3 separate regions of the Homo sapiens genome follow, and all the other regions are linked to region 1. The links are contacts of gene promoters, found by promoter capture Hi-C in blood cells and fetal thymus (Javierre and others, 2016). All regions are on one chromosome and are shown on one strand. Each heading gives the region's core, a stretch centred on a gene start or on the middle of the fragment in contact. The rest is flanking DNA. Distances are from core to core; before and after follow the strand shown.

Region 1 (3,995 bases), core at 941-3,440:
TTTTTTTTTTTTTGAAAGACAGGTTCTCACTCTGTTGCCCAGACTGGAGTGCAGTGTCAGGATCATAGCTAACTGCTGCCTCGAACTCCTGGGCTCAAGCAATCTTCCTGAGTAGCTGGGACTACAGGTGTGTGCCACCATGCCCAGCTAATTTTTAAAAATTTTCTGTAGAGATGGGAGTCTTGCTATGTTGCCCAAACTGGTCTTGAATTCCATGATGAGCCAGGCTCACATTTGTAATCCCAACACTTTGGGAGATCAGGGCGGGAGGATCAGTTGAGGCTAGAAGTTCAAGACTTGCCTGGGCAACATAGTGAGAATCCGCCTTTGCAAAAAGTAAAAAAATTAGTGGAGTGTGGCGGTGCAAACCCGTAGTCCCAGCCACTTGGGAGACTGAGGTAGGAGGATCACTTGATTCCAGAGTTGAAGGCTGCAGTGAGCTATGGTCTTGACACTGCACTCTAGCCTGGGCAACAGAGCAAGATGCTCTCTCAAAAAATAAATAGACCGGGCACGGTGGCTCACGCCTGTGATCCCAGCACTTTGGGAGGCCAAGGTGTGGGGGATCCCTCGAGCTCAGGAGTTCGAGTCTAGCCTGAGCAACATGGCGAAACCCCGTCTCTACAAAAAGTACAAAAATTAACTAGGCATGGTGACGTGTGCTTGTAGTCCCAGCTACTGGGGAGATTGAGGTGGGAGGATTGCCTGAGCCTGGTAGATGAAAAGTTGCAGTGAGCAGAGATGACGCCACTGCACTCCAGCCTGGGTGACAGAGCAAGACTCTCTCCAAGAAATATGTAACATTTTTAACATAACATAACATAACATAACAAACTTTCCCTGAATAACTGTAGTCATGCCAAGTGCTCATCCACAGCCTCATAACTTGTGCTTGTGCTTTCTAGCCTTGTTTACTCCTCCATATATGAAAAAAAGAAAAAAAAGCTTTTTAGTTTGTGTCTCTTGGACATTTTCAGATCTTGTGATTGGAACATTCTCTCTATTGCAATAGTCCTTTTGAATAAAATCTTCCTTCTCTAAGTCTGAATTTGTCATTTACAGTGGTAAATATCTTAATTGTTCTGAGATAAATTATGTATATTATCTTTTTGTGGCAAAGGACTTAATATATATTCAGTAGGTGAAAGTAGTTCCTGGGGCCAGGTATGGTGGCTCACGCCTGTAATCCCAGCACTTTGGGAGGCTGAGGCGGGTGGATCACTTGAGGTCAGGAATTCGAGACCAGCCTAGGCAACATGGTGAAACTTCATCTCCGCTAAAGAACGTGGTGGCGGGCGCCTGTAATCCTAGCTACTCGGGAGGCTGAGGCAGGAGCATTGCTTGAACCCGGGAGGCCGAGGTTGCAGTGAGCAGAGATCATGCCACTGCACCCCAGCCTGGACGACAGAGCGTGACTCCGGCTCAAAAAAAAAAAAAAAAAGTATAGGCGTTTGAGGTTGTCATCTCGCACGGAATAGAATAGTAAGTATAAAAAAGGACAATGCAATTTATATCTATTTTTTAAAAGTTACTGCTAATTTCAGGGCTTTTAAATTACTTAATTTTAATCGCAGAAACTTTTCCAGCATGCCATCACCGCTCCGTGTCAACCCATGTTCCCAGACTCCTGGGCTGCTTCAGCGTCAATAACATTACTGGGTAAACGCGCTAGCAAAAAATGCTTTCAACATAAACCGCCTCCATTCTAAGAGGAAAGCAGTTTGGTTTCCAAAATAACCTACACAACTGTGCTTTTAACTTGAAACCGTTTGAAACATCTACGCCGTTCCACAAGACACTACAGATGGCTCTGGGCGCTGGGCTGTGGGCATCACACGAAATCGCAGACCCTAACGTGTCCCGTCCAGCCCCGCCTCTCCCCCGGGTCCCTTCCTGGCGGTCCCTCTGCCTCCCTCCCCCGCGGTCCCTTCGCCTTCCTCCCCCGCGGTCCCTTCCCGCGGTTCCTCCCCGCCCTTCCCCGGCGGCTCCTCCCCGGCCCGCCCCCGGGTCCCTCCACTTGGTCACTCCCCACCCCTCCCCGGTGGCTCCTCCCCGTTCCTTCCCTGGGGTCCCTGCCTGGCGGCCCCTGCTTCAGCCCGGCTCTCTCAACGCCCCGCCCTTTTCCGGTTCCGCCCATCTCGGACCCCGCCCCGGGCCGCTCGGTCGCTTTCCTTCGCGCAGTTGCCCACAGACCCGGAAGTGGATCGTGCGGAGCAAGCATCACACCATGGCGTATGAGTGTTCCTCTGTGTAGACTCAACCTGCGCCTCGCCGTCCCCCATTCGCACACCCGATGCCCGGGGGTCGCTACGGACTTAAAATCTCCGCACCGCACCCTCCACCTCAGGTAAATAGGCCTTGCTGTGTGGGCCCGGAGACGCTTCCTTTTGGGTTAAAGTCGCCCTGAGGCTGGTCCCTGCCCCCGGTCTTTCTGCCTTGGGCCAAGTAAACACGGCCTTTCCCGGTTTTTTAAACGTTTAAGCAGGATTTTCCTGCTTAAAATCCTTTACTGACTCCTCCTCCCGCCCCGCATCGCTTAAAGTCCTCACCGCCTGCCCTGGGCGCCTCCCAGCCTCGCTCTCGTCGGCCCCTGGAGCGCAGCGCCGCCGACCCAGTCCCGGGGAGGCCGCGCCTCCGCCTGGTCCTGGGATCCTGCACATCCCACCCCTGTCCTAAGGCGCCGTCGCCCCCCACCTCCCTCCTCCTCGTGCCGGGCCCTGCTGCTCCCCAGGCCTCCCCTTCGCAGTCACCGCTTCCCTTGAGCCCTCGTTGGGGAGGTGCCCGGGGCCCGTCCTGTGACACCCGGTGTTTTTGCCTGCCCAGCTCCACCCCCTGGAAAATGTACTCCTCCAACATGCAGACATCTTACTACAAACCCTCCAGTGAATGTGTGGCCCAAGGGAATCAGGAGAAAGAGAGACAAAGAGCCACTGAGAGGAGATGGAAAAACCAAGAAAGAGAAAAGAAAAATGAGGGAGACCCATAAACAGATGGCAAAGTGGAGGATGGGTGAGAGATTTGCAGCGACAGAGTGAAAGAAGCAGTCAAGAAAGTAGCAGGGGCAGAAAAGCAATTGGCGAAATGTAGAGAAAAGCTCGATGTCCCGAGATGCAGGACAACAAGATAAGGAGAGGGACAGCAAAGAAGGAGCCTCCTCAGACAGAGAGTGGGGGAGAGGAGAAAGGATTTGGCCGAGGGCAGACAGAGCTGCGTGGTGCTGGGACAGCTGGAGGGGACAGCTGGTGACAAGGCGAGCAGAGGGAGCACCACAACACAGGGAGGCCTGGGATCTGGGAGTGCCAGAGAGTGGGGATAAGCGGGTGTAACAGGGAAGAGGGGATTTAACAGGGAGAGCAGAGGAGGCGCGGAGATGGGGTAAGAAAGAGGCAGAAATAGATGGAGATTGGGACGATGAAAAGATTGGAAAGAAAACGCCACAAGAGGTGAAACAAATTGGAAGAATGGAGTAGAACAGATATAAGGGGAAAAAACAAAGAAGGGAGAAACAGCAGAAGAAAAAAGAGGCACAACATCGTCAGAATCCTAGGGGGAAGATAAAAGGGGAAAAAGGCTGGAGAGACAAGGTGAAAGTGAGAGGCACAAAATGGGGGAGAGGAACACATAGTTATAAAGAAAGAGGGGCGCCCTGGGGCCAGGTGAGAGGTGAGTTGAGATTGGATATGACAATTTGATTTCTCTATTTATAATGTGTTACATTTAAATTGTAATCTAATTGTTTAAATTCTACATATAAGGATGAGAATTACAAAGCTCTGTGTAAAAGGCTTGTGCATTTTACAATTATGGCATAAGAGGCTAGCTTTCATTTGCCCATGCTGTTTAGCCATTGGGCAGTGACTTGCCTCATTCAGTTATGGGTCTCCCTCTTCCTGTTTCCGAGGATGGGGTAGGGTGGGGGCAGTGAAGAGAGGCAAGGAGTGACTGGCTGTGTCACTGCCTGGTGCCTTGTATTTACCTTTCATCTCACAGTTCAT
Region 2 (3,995 bases), core at 63-2,562, 420 kb before region 1:
CAACATGGTGAAATCCCGTCTCTACTAAAAATACAAAAATTAGCTGGGCATGGTGGCGTGCGCCTGTGGTCCCAGCTACTTGGGAGGCTGAGGCAGGAGAATCGCTTGAACCTGGGAACCGAGATCGCACCACTGCACTCCAGCCCTGGGCGACAGAGCAAGACTCTGTCTCAAAAAAAAAAAAAACAAAGAAAGAAAATAGGGCACACTTGTCCCCAGACCACAGTTAAAATCAATCAGAAATAAGAGGGCACAGGCATGTGAGTTTTTCAGAGAAATGCTGGAAAACTCTAGGAACTGGGGTTCTGAAACATGGAGCTGCCCCTCTCACCACCTCCCCGCCTCCCATGTCAGGTACCTCTTTCTTCCCCAAAAGGAATTCTATTCTTGAGGTTACTTCCTCTTGTCGTCCAGGTAGTGTGCACGGAGAGCACTTCTGGCTCCAAAACTGCCATCTCGTGACTTGTGAAGCCTTCTTCTTGGTCATTTTCACAATAGCGTAGAGCCTCTCACGTCACTTTGGGACCACTGCTCCCTAGCAGGTACCACATGGCTGGAAGGCCAAGGCACAGGAAGCAACGGAGACACTAGAAAGACAGGTGACATGGTCGCACACACCTGTGCTCACTCAAAAGGCCATGCACCCAGGCCCGATCCCGACCAGTCACAGCCGCACACTCGCTGGCCCTTTCACACCCACAGACGCTCACACCAGAGGGACACTGCCTGTCCCTGTCAACCTGACAGAAGTGCAAAGGCACATTTCAGAGACACGGAGACCCGTCCTGGCCGTGCCACCTCTGCAGACCCCACCAGCATTGACCTCGCACAGAACGGAGGTGCAGAGACACAGCCCGGCTGCGTCACCCCTACAGATGCCCTTACAGCCCGGCGCTATGGCCCTCATAGACGTCTACACACACCTGTGTCACAGTTTATGGGGACAGAGCCCGGCCGCGTCAACCCCGCATGCATCACGGCTTAGGGGAACGGGGCTTGTTCGCATTACCCCACAGACGAAGACAATTATCTCAGTCACTGGGCCACGGCGGGGCCCCACCAGGCAGCCTCTGGCTTATTCACACACACACACACACACACACACACACACTCACACACACTCCCACTTCCCTGCTCGCCGCTCCCGAAGCCTCAGGCCGAAGCTTCTTCATTTTAGGGCCTCCGCGTCCCGAGTGGCTCCCTCACCGCCATTCCCCGCGGAACCCTGCCCTGGCTTCCTCCTGGGAGGCAAATAGCTCCCGGCTCGAGGCCTAACCACACCCAGCACATCAGGAGGTGAAACAAGGTCTCAGGCGCAGTTGGGATAAGATCCAGGAGAAACCATTTTTAAAAATCCCGCGAGCATGAAGCACGCCCCTCAGCCGGCCACCCGGCTCGCTCCTCATTGGACTGTGCCCCAAGGCCCTCTGGGAAATGTAATGCGAAACCAGAGAAGCTTCGACGCAGCTGGAAGGGCGCCCGTCAGTGTTTCCCAGCATGCAACTCTACACGGCGCAAATGGAGCCGTGACCCAGAGGCCTCTGGGAAATGTAGTCCATAACCCGGAAATCCACAGAGTTGGAAGCGGCTGTCAGGATTTCCCAGCATGCAACTCTACGCGACCCTAAGGGCGTCCTGCCTTGAGGGCTTCTGGGAAATGTAGCTCATAACCCGGGAATCGACGTATCTGGAAGGGCGCCCATCAGTGTTTCCCTGCAGGCAACTGCACACGGCCCTAATGGAGCCATGCCCCAGAGACCTCTGGGAAATGCTCACTACGCGGGAATCCTTAGCGCTGGAAGCGCGGCCGTCAGAATGCTTTTCGTCGGTGTCTCCTCCCACTGTTAGAGCAGCTGCACCCCCCATAGACTTCTGGGAAAGCGTATTTCAGACTGGCAGAATCTTCAAATGCTGGAAGCCCTGTCGGCCTTCTCCTGCCCTGAAACTTTGCTTGCTCCTAAGGCGCACCACAAAAAATTCCTGGGAAAAGTGGTTCAGGCTCTAGGGGCCTACAGTTATAATTGCTTACAACTTGCATTTGGGATCCGTCCATAGGGAAGGCGTGTCCCCGCGTCCTTCTGGGAAGGAAATGTAGTCTGAAACGACCAGAAATCACGCCTGTAATCTCAGCACTTTGGGAGGCCGAGGCGGGTATATCACCTGAGATCAGGAGTTCGAGACCCTCCTGCCCAACATGGTGAAACCCCATCGCTCTAAAAATGCAAAAATTAGCCAGGCGTGGTGGTGTGTGCCTGTAATCCCAGCTACTTGGGAGGCTGAGGGAAGAGAATCGCTTGAACCCAGGAGGCAGAGGTTGCAGTGAGCCGAGATCACACCACTGCACTCCAGCCTGGGCGATAAGAGTGAAACAATGTCTCAAAATAATAATAATAATAATAATAAGCCCGGAAAGCTTAAAAGCTGTGATTTGGGAAAAGTTCAAAAATTTCCCAGCATGCAACATGGCCCTCCTTAGAAAAGAGCTGTGCCTCCAGAGCGTTCTTGGAAATACAGCCCCGAGCTGGAAATGCCTCTAGAAAGTGTTAGGTAGGGTGTTTACATGTGAGATTTTGGGGACGTTTCAGCACTGCCCTTTCCCCCACCCCCCAGTAGATTGGGGAGCTCCAGGCATGTGTGTAGGGACCTTGAGTAGGTTCCACGGGAGTGACCTGGTCCTGACTGGGTCTGTGCCAAGGCTCTCTCTGTAAGGGCAGGACTTTGCGTTTCGTTCTCTGATGCTGTCCCAGACTTGGGAGCACTGCCTGGCTCTTCAGATGTCTCTGTGAGTGTTACCTTGGTATGGGCGGGAGAGGCCTGGGCTGTATGGCTTGCTGCCCGGCAGGATATTGACAAGATGTTCTTATGATCAGGCGGTTTGGCCCTTTTTCCGGTGGGATCTCATCAGGATGTTCCTTGGACCTTTGCCAAGAAAGATATGATAGGGATGGTTTTTGTAGTTGGGCCTTTGCCCAGTAGGACATGATGAGAATGTTTCTTTAATTGGGTCTTTGTTCGCCTTGTGGTCAGGTGGTTAGGCAGGATATTTCTCACTGCCTGAACCCCTGTGAAATGTTTCACTTTGACCAAGGTCTGCAAAAGAGCAGGGGGCTTCCGAAATGGTGCAATTTAGACAAACACTGGGGTGTGAGATGCTTTGCCCTAAAAAATATATGCTGTTGTTGGGAGAGAATCATTGGTGGGTGTGACTGGATTTGTGATTGTGTGGACTCATCAGGGAGCCTCCTGGAGCTCAGGTAAGGGAGGGCGCCTGTGAGGTTTTTGGCCTTCATTATGACATGGATGAGATTGTATGTTTCTATGAACGTGTGGGTAAGACTACTGTATAGAGTACCCTTGACATAAGTAACTCCATCTTAGAAAAAGACTCCATCTTGCATTCCACAGGGCACTTTGCCAACAGGGACAAGATGTTTTGCTTAATAAATAAATAATAAAGACTGCATCCAACCAGATAAGGATATAAACAAGCACATTCTTCCACCATCTGTCCTCCCCAGAGGACTCTGTGGCCATAAAAGGAGCAAGGCTTCAGTGGCTTGAAATAACCATCTTAACTGCAACCGTCCTGCTGTCATTTGTGATGAGCACTTGGCATCTGCTGCTGAAGCCTCAAAGACTTCTTGCAAGACCAATGGGCCTGCCCAGCCCTGACCAAGGGTTTTGTTACTCTCCTTGGACTGACTTGTTAACCCTTTTCTCCTATCTCTTTTCTCTTGATGTTAAACATTACTTTGTTTATTGTGAAATGTTTAATCTATAACATTTATATATATTGATTAAGTACACTACTATGTATGGTTTGCAATATTGACTGACTTGTGAAGTGGCTTGAGCCTGCGTGTCTATGGCTCTGACTACCAAGTGAAGGGGCAGTACCAAAGAGAATTGCCTTGTATTAGTCAGGGTTCTCCAGAGAGACAGAACTAATAGGATATATGTCTATAGGAAAGGAAGTTTATTAGGGAGAATTGGCT
Region 3 (3,995 bases), core at 852-3,351, 330 kb before region 1:
AATCTGCGCGCGCAGAGCAGAAGCCAGGCCTGGGCGGGACCCGCAAGGAGGTGGGCGGGGCCTGGACGAGGCAGGGGCGGGGCGCGAGGCGGAGAGACCTTGCGCTTTAGAGCCGGCAGAGGGCGGGGCCGGGGCGTGACCGGTGCTCCTCTCAGCTTCTCTCCTAGCACCTGTTTTCGGGTGGTGAAGGTGAGACCGCCCAGGAAGGCTGACGCATGGACTCAAAAGCCCTGGAATTGTCTGGAACGGGATACAAACTAGAATGTAAAATGCAAGGCCCTGCCTGGGCGGAACGTACGATTTCATGCTGACGGCCCACAGAACAGAACAGAAATCCTCTCCCTTTCTATTCTCCACTCACTCAGGAGGGAGAGTCCACCCCGTGCTCAGCTGCAGAGACTTCCCTAGGGCCTCCCCCTGGGATGCGGGACGGAATGCTCAGGCCAGCCAGGGGCGACCTGCTGGATAAACACAGCAAGGATTCAGGCGCGGGGGCGGGAGCCTGAGTTCCCAGCTACTCAGGAAGCAGCGGCGAGAGGATCGCTGAGCCTGGGGGTCCAGGCCAGCCTGGGCGACAAAGTAACACCCCTCCCTCAGGACTCCCTCCCTCGTCTCTCTCTCTTTTTTTCTCCATTTTTTAACGTTAAAATAAAATTTTGATTGTGTGAGATAGGGATACATTATTCTTTTCCATGTGGATATCCAGTTAGTTGTCCCAGCACATTTGTAGAAGAGATCTATTACTTTCTTTTATTTATTTACTTATTTCTTTTCTTTTATTTTGAGACAGAGCATTTCTCTGTCGCCCAGGCTGGAGTGCAGTGGCAGGAACTGGGCTCACTGCAGCCTCTGCCTCCTGGGTTCAAGCGATTCCCCTGCCTCAGCCTCCGGAGTACCTGCCATTACAGGCGCGTGCCACCATGCCCGGCTAATTTTTGTATTTTTGTAGGTGGGTTCCCCATGTTGGCCAGCTGGTCTCAACCTCCTGACTTCAAGTGATCCACCTGCCTCGGCCTCCCAAAGTACTGGGATTACAGGCGTGAGCCACTGTGCCTGGCCCCCCCAAAATACTTTTTACTTCACTGTCTAATTGTTGAGAAAATATAATTGAAAACAAACAAAAAGTCTTTCTCCAAATGAGAAATCATCTCCACGATGATCATAGAGAAAGAAATTAAAACCATTTCATTAATAAATAAGCCTTAGACCAGATTGTGATGCGAAATACAGGCAAACAGCTAAGAGGTTGAAAAAAGAGAAAGAAACTTTACTGTTCTATACAACCCATTAAGGACATGTTTTCAAGATAAACGCTAATCAGTCCTCAGGGAAGAGGACTTGACAACACTCTTGGTCACACATAGTTCATCCTGACTCTACTTGGTAATGGAGGTGACCATCTGTGTCAGCTAATTAGCTTCATTCTGAGGGACGGGGAGTAACACTAACCCATGTCTTTCTGACAAGTGTGAGTTTTACAACATAGCGACAGGTGCCCTCTCTGGTGAGGCTCCTACAGTCTGACAGAAACTGATATCAGCAGTAAATAATAAAATTTAGAATATATGATTAAGCACAGAGTTTATTTGAACACAAAGCATGAGGATAGCCACCTGGAAACATCAACTCCAAATGAATGGGATCAGCGTTCCCTTAGGTTTCACACACACGGAAAGACAGAGAAGCTTTAGAAGAATCACCACATTTTCCATTCAAGACCAGTACATAGGGTGCAGCAAGGTGATTGGTTATGGATTGATATACTTCAAGGAAGGTTACTTTATCACTCAATATAAAGGGACAATGATCCCAGGAGGTCTTATCTCTGGGGCTGCTTAGTCTTTTTAATTATTTACAGGAAAATTCTCTCTCTCTTTTTTTTTTTTTTTGGACGTAGTCTTGCTCTCTCACCCAGGCTGGAGTGCAGAGGCATGATGTCAGCTCACTGCAACCTACACCTCTCAGATTCAAGCAGTTCTCCTGCCTCAGCCTCCCAAGTAGCTGGGATTACAGGCATCCACCACCACATCTGGCTAATGTTTGCATTTTTAGTTGAGACAGGGTTTCACCATGTTAGCCAGGCTGGTCTTGAACTCTTGACCTCCGGTGATCTGCTCACCTCAGCCTCCGAAAATGCTGGAATTACAGGCGTGAGCCACCGTGCCCAGCCTATAAGTGGCTTTTTTACAGCGAATGCTATGCAAAACTTCTCATCAGTCATCATCATATTCAATAGCATTGCTTTTATCATATCACGGAAACCATTATTCTCATTTGGAACAGTCTGCCATCAACCTTCACAAATGCATATGGAAGCCCTCATGCTGGACTTCTCCTCACCCTAGAATCACCTGGGGGCAGGGTAGTTAATTGAAACAGCATGGATGTTTCCCCCGACACCAATAGACAGACGCTATGGGGAGGGCACAGGTGATGGTAGTAACTGAATATGACCATTTGATCCAACTGGAAGCCTGGGCTGAGAGCCTCTTAGCTAAGCACTGACTCTCAAGCTTTAAGGTGAATATAAGTCATCTGGCACTCCACAACCCACTGTAATAATGTTTGATTCTGCAGGTTTGAGGTAGCATTTATAAATTGGCATCTTTAACAAGTTCCCTGTTAATGCCAATGTTTCTCCCCTCGGACCCATTGTCAGAAGCACTGAGCTACAGAAGGCATGCCCTGCACACCAGAGCCCCTTCCACCCAAATATCTGCTCTCAGCACAGATACTGTTGGTTCCCAGGGGAGACCATAAATCACAGTCTTGAAAAGTCACTTTCTCTTTTTTTTTTCTTTCTTTTTTTCAGATGGAGTCTCGCTCTGTCGTCCAAAGTGCTGGGATTACAGGCTTGAGCCACCGCGACTGGCCTGATAGGAGGTGTTTAAAAGGAGCTTCAAAAGAGGTCAGTGCTCTACACTGAACGAAGGATGGAGGGTAATGGTAATGCCTCCACATTAAAATGACACAAATGCTGCTGTCTTACTGAAGTTTGGTACTTTCTGTGGGATAGATACTTTTCACTTTGTTCTGTGGCTTTGGTAAATTTCAGAAGTCTGAAATGATTGATTTTAGTGACTTTGCGAGTGTTTTCATCATTTTGCAGAGGAGACTTGGTTTCTTGTGGTTTGCATTCATCAGTGTCAGAAGCTGATCTCTCTATTCAATCTTGCAGTTTTAAGTAATGCATTGAACAGTCACATAACAGAACGCTGAGCAGGAGAACTAAATTTCTAGTGTAATCAGAATGGCAGGCACTAAATGAATTATTTTACAATAAGCCTGTGTCCTTTTTATTAACTGTTCAGTGGAGAAGTTTGGAGTCTATAAACTTGTAATAAATGTGGCCTGTAAGAACTACAAATACTGGAAAGCTCTGAGGATGTAATTTCTAATTTGATGAAGAAAACATTCTCTTTAATTAACTTGGCAAGGAGAAGGCTTCAATAAAAAGAAAGGCAACTATGCCTGGGGCGGAGCTGGAGTGGAAATAAGATGGCAGACATTGGACGTCATTGAAGGCCTGGTGATGTGGTTTTAGTCCATGTGCCAAGAGCAAAAAGTTATTTAAAATATATTAGTTAGGGCCGGGTGCAGCGGCTCATGCCTATAATCCCAGCACCTTGGGAGACCAAGGGCGGGTGGATCATATGACGTCCGGAGTTCAAGACCAGCCTGACCCATGTGGTGAAACCGCATCTCTAATAAAAATACAAAAAAATTAGCTAGTGGTGGTGGCATGTGCCTGTAATCCCAGCAACCTGGGAGGCTGAGGAAGGAGAATCACTTGAACCTGGGAGGCAGAGGTTGCAGTGAGCTGAGATCATGCCACTGCACTCCAGCCTGGGTGACAGAGCAGGACTCCATCTCAAAAAAAAAAAAAAGAGTAAAAATATATTAGTTATTGGGGAATATCAGCATATATAAATGTGTCTTCAGGTAAAAGTGACAATAACCTGGATACAGACACATGGAAATAGGAAATTTTTTCA

Evidence for each region. The method cuts DNA at HindIII sites, captures the fragments that hold promoters and counts their contacts. A CHiCAGO score of 5 or more calls a contact.
Region 2: a contact is called between a fragment that was not itself captured here and the fragment with the promoter of ZNF160 in region 1, in 4 of 17 cell types (fetal thymus, naive CD4 T cells, total CD8 T cells and 1 more). The highest score is 6.9, in fetal thymus.
Region 3: a contact is called between a fragment that was not itself captured here and the fragment with the promoter of ZNF160 in region 1, in 1 of 17 cell types (fetal thymus). The highest score is 5.1, in fetal thymus.

The regions. Positions count from the first base shown.
Region 1 is chr19:53,101,617-53,105,611 of GRCh38, reverse strand. It overlaps ZNF160 (zinc finger protein 160), which reads left to right and starts at 2,190. Exons shown (of 6, transcript NM_001322131.2): 1 at 2,190-2,347. RefSeq lists a silencer at 1,738-2,147. The HindIII fragment of the contact is 3,069 bases long and covers 948-3,995 here.
Region 2 is chr19:53,518,448-53,522,442 of GRCh38, reverse strand. It overlaps a transcript of ZNF331 not described here. Among named protein-coding and RNA genes, the nearest start is that of ZNF331, 18 kb to the left of the region's middle. RefSeq lists enhancers at 397-1,170, 1,481-1,680, 1,171-1,944, 1,945-2,719. The HindIII fragment of the contact is 293 bases long and covers 1,166-1,458 here.
Region 3 is chr19:53,427,984-53,431,978 of GRCh38, reverse strand. The region is part of intron 9 of ZNF765-ZNF761 (ZNF765-ZNF761 readthrough); the gene reads right to left. It also overlaps the pseudogene TPM3P9. Among named protein-coding and RNA genes, the nearest start is that of ZNF761, 2.0 kb to the left of the region's middle. RefSeq lists a silencer at 39-118. The HindIII fragment of the contact is 828 bases long and covers 1,688-2,515 here.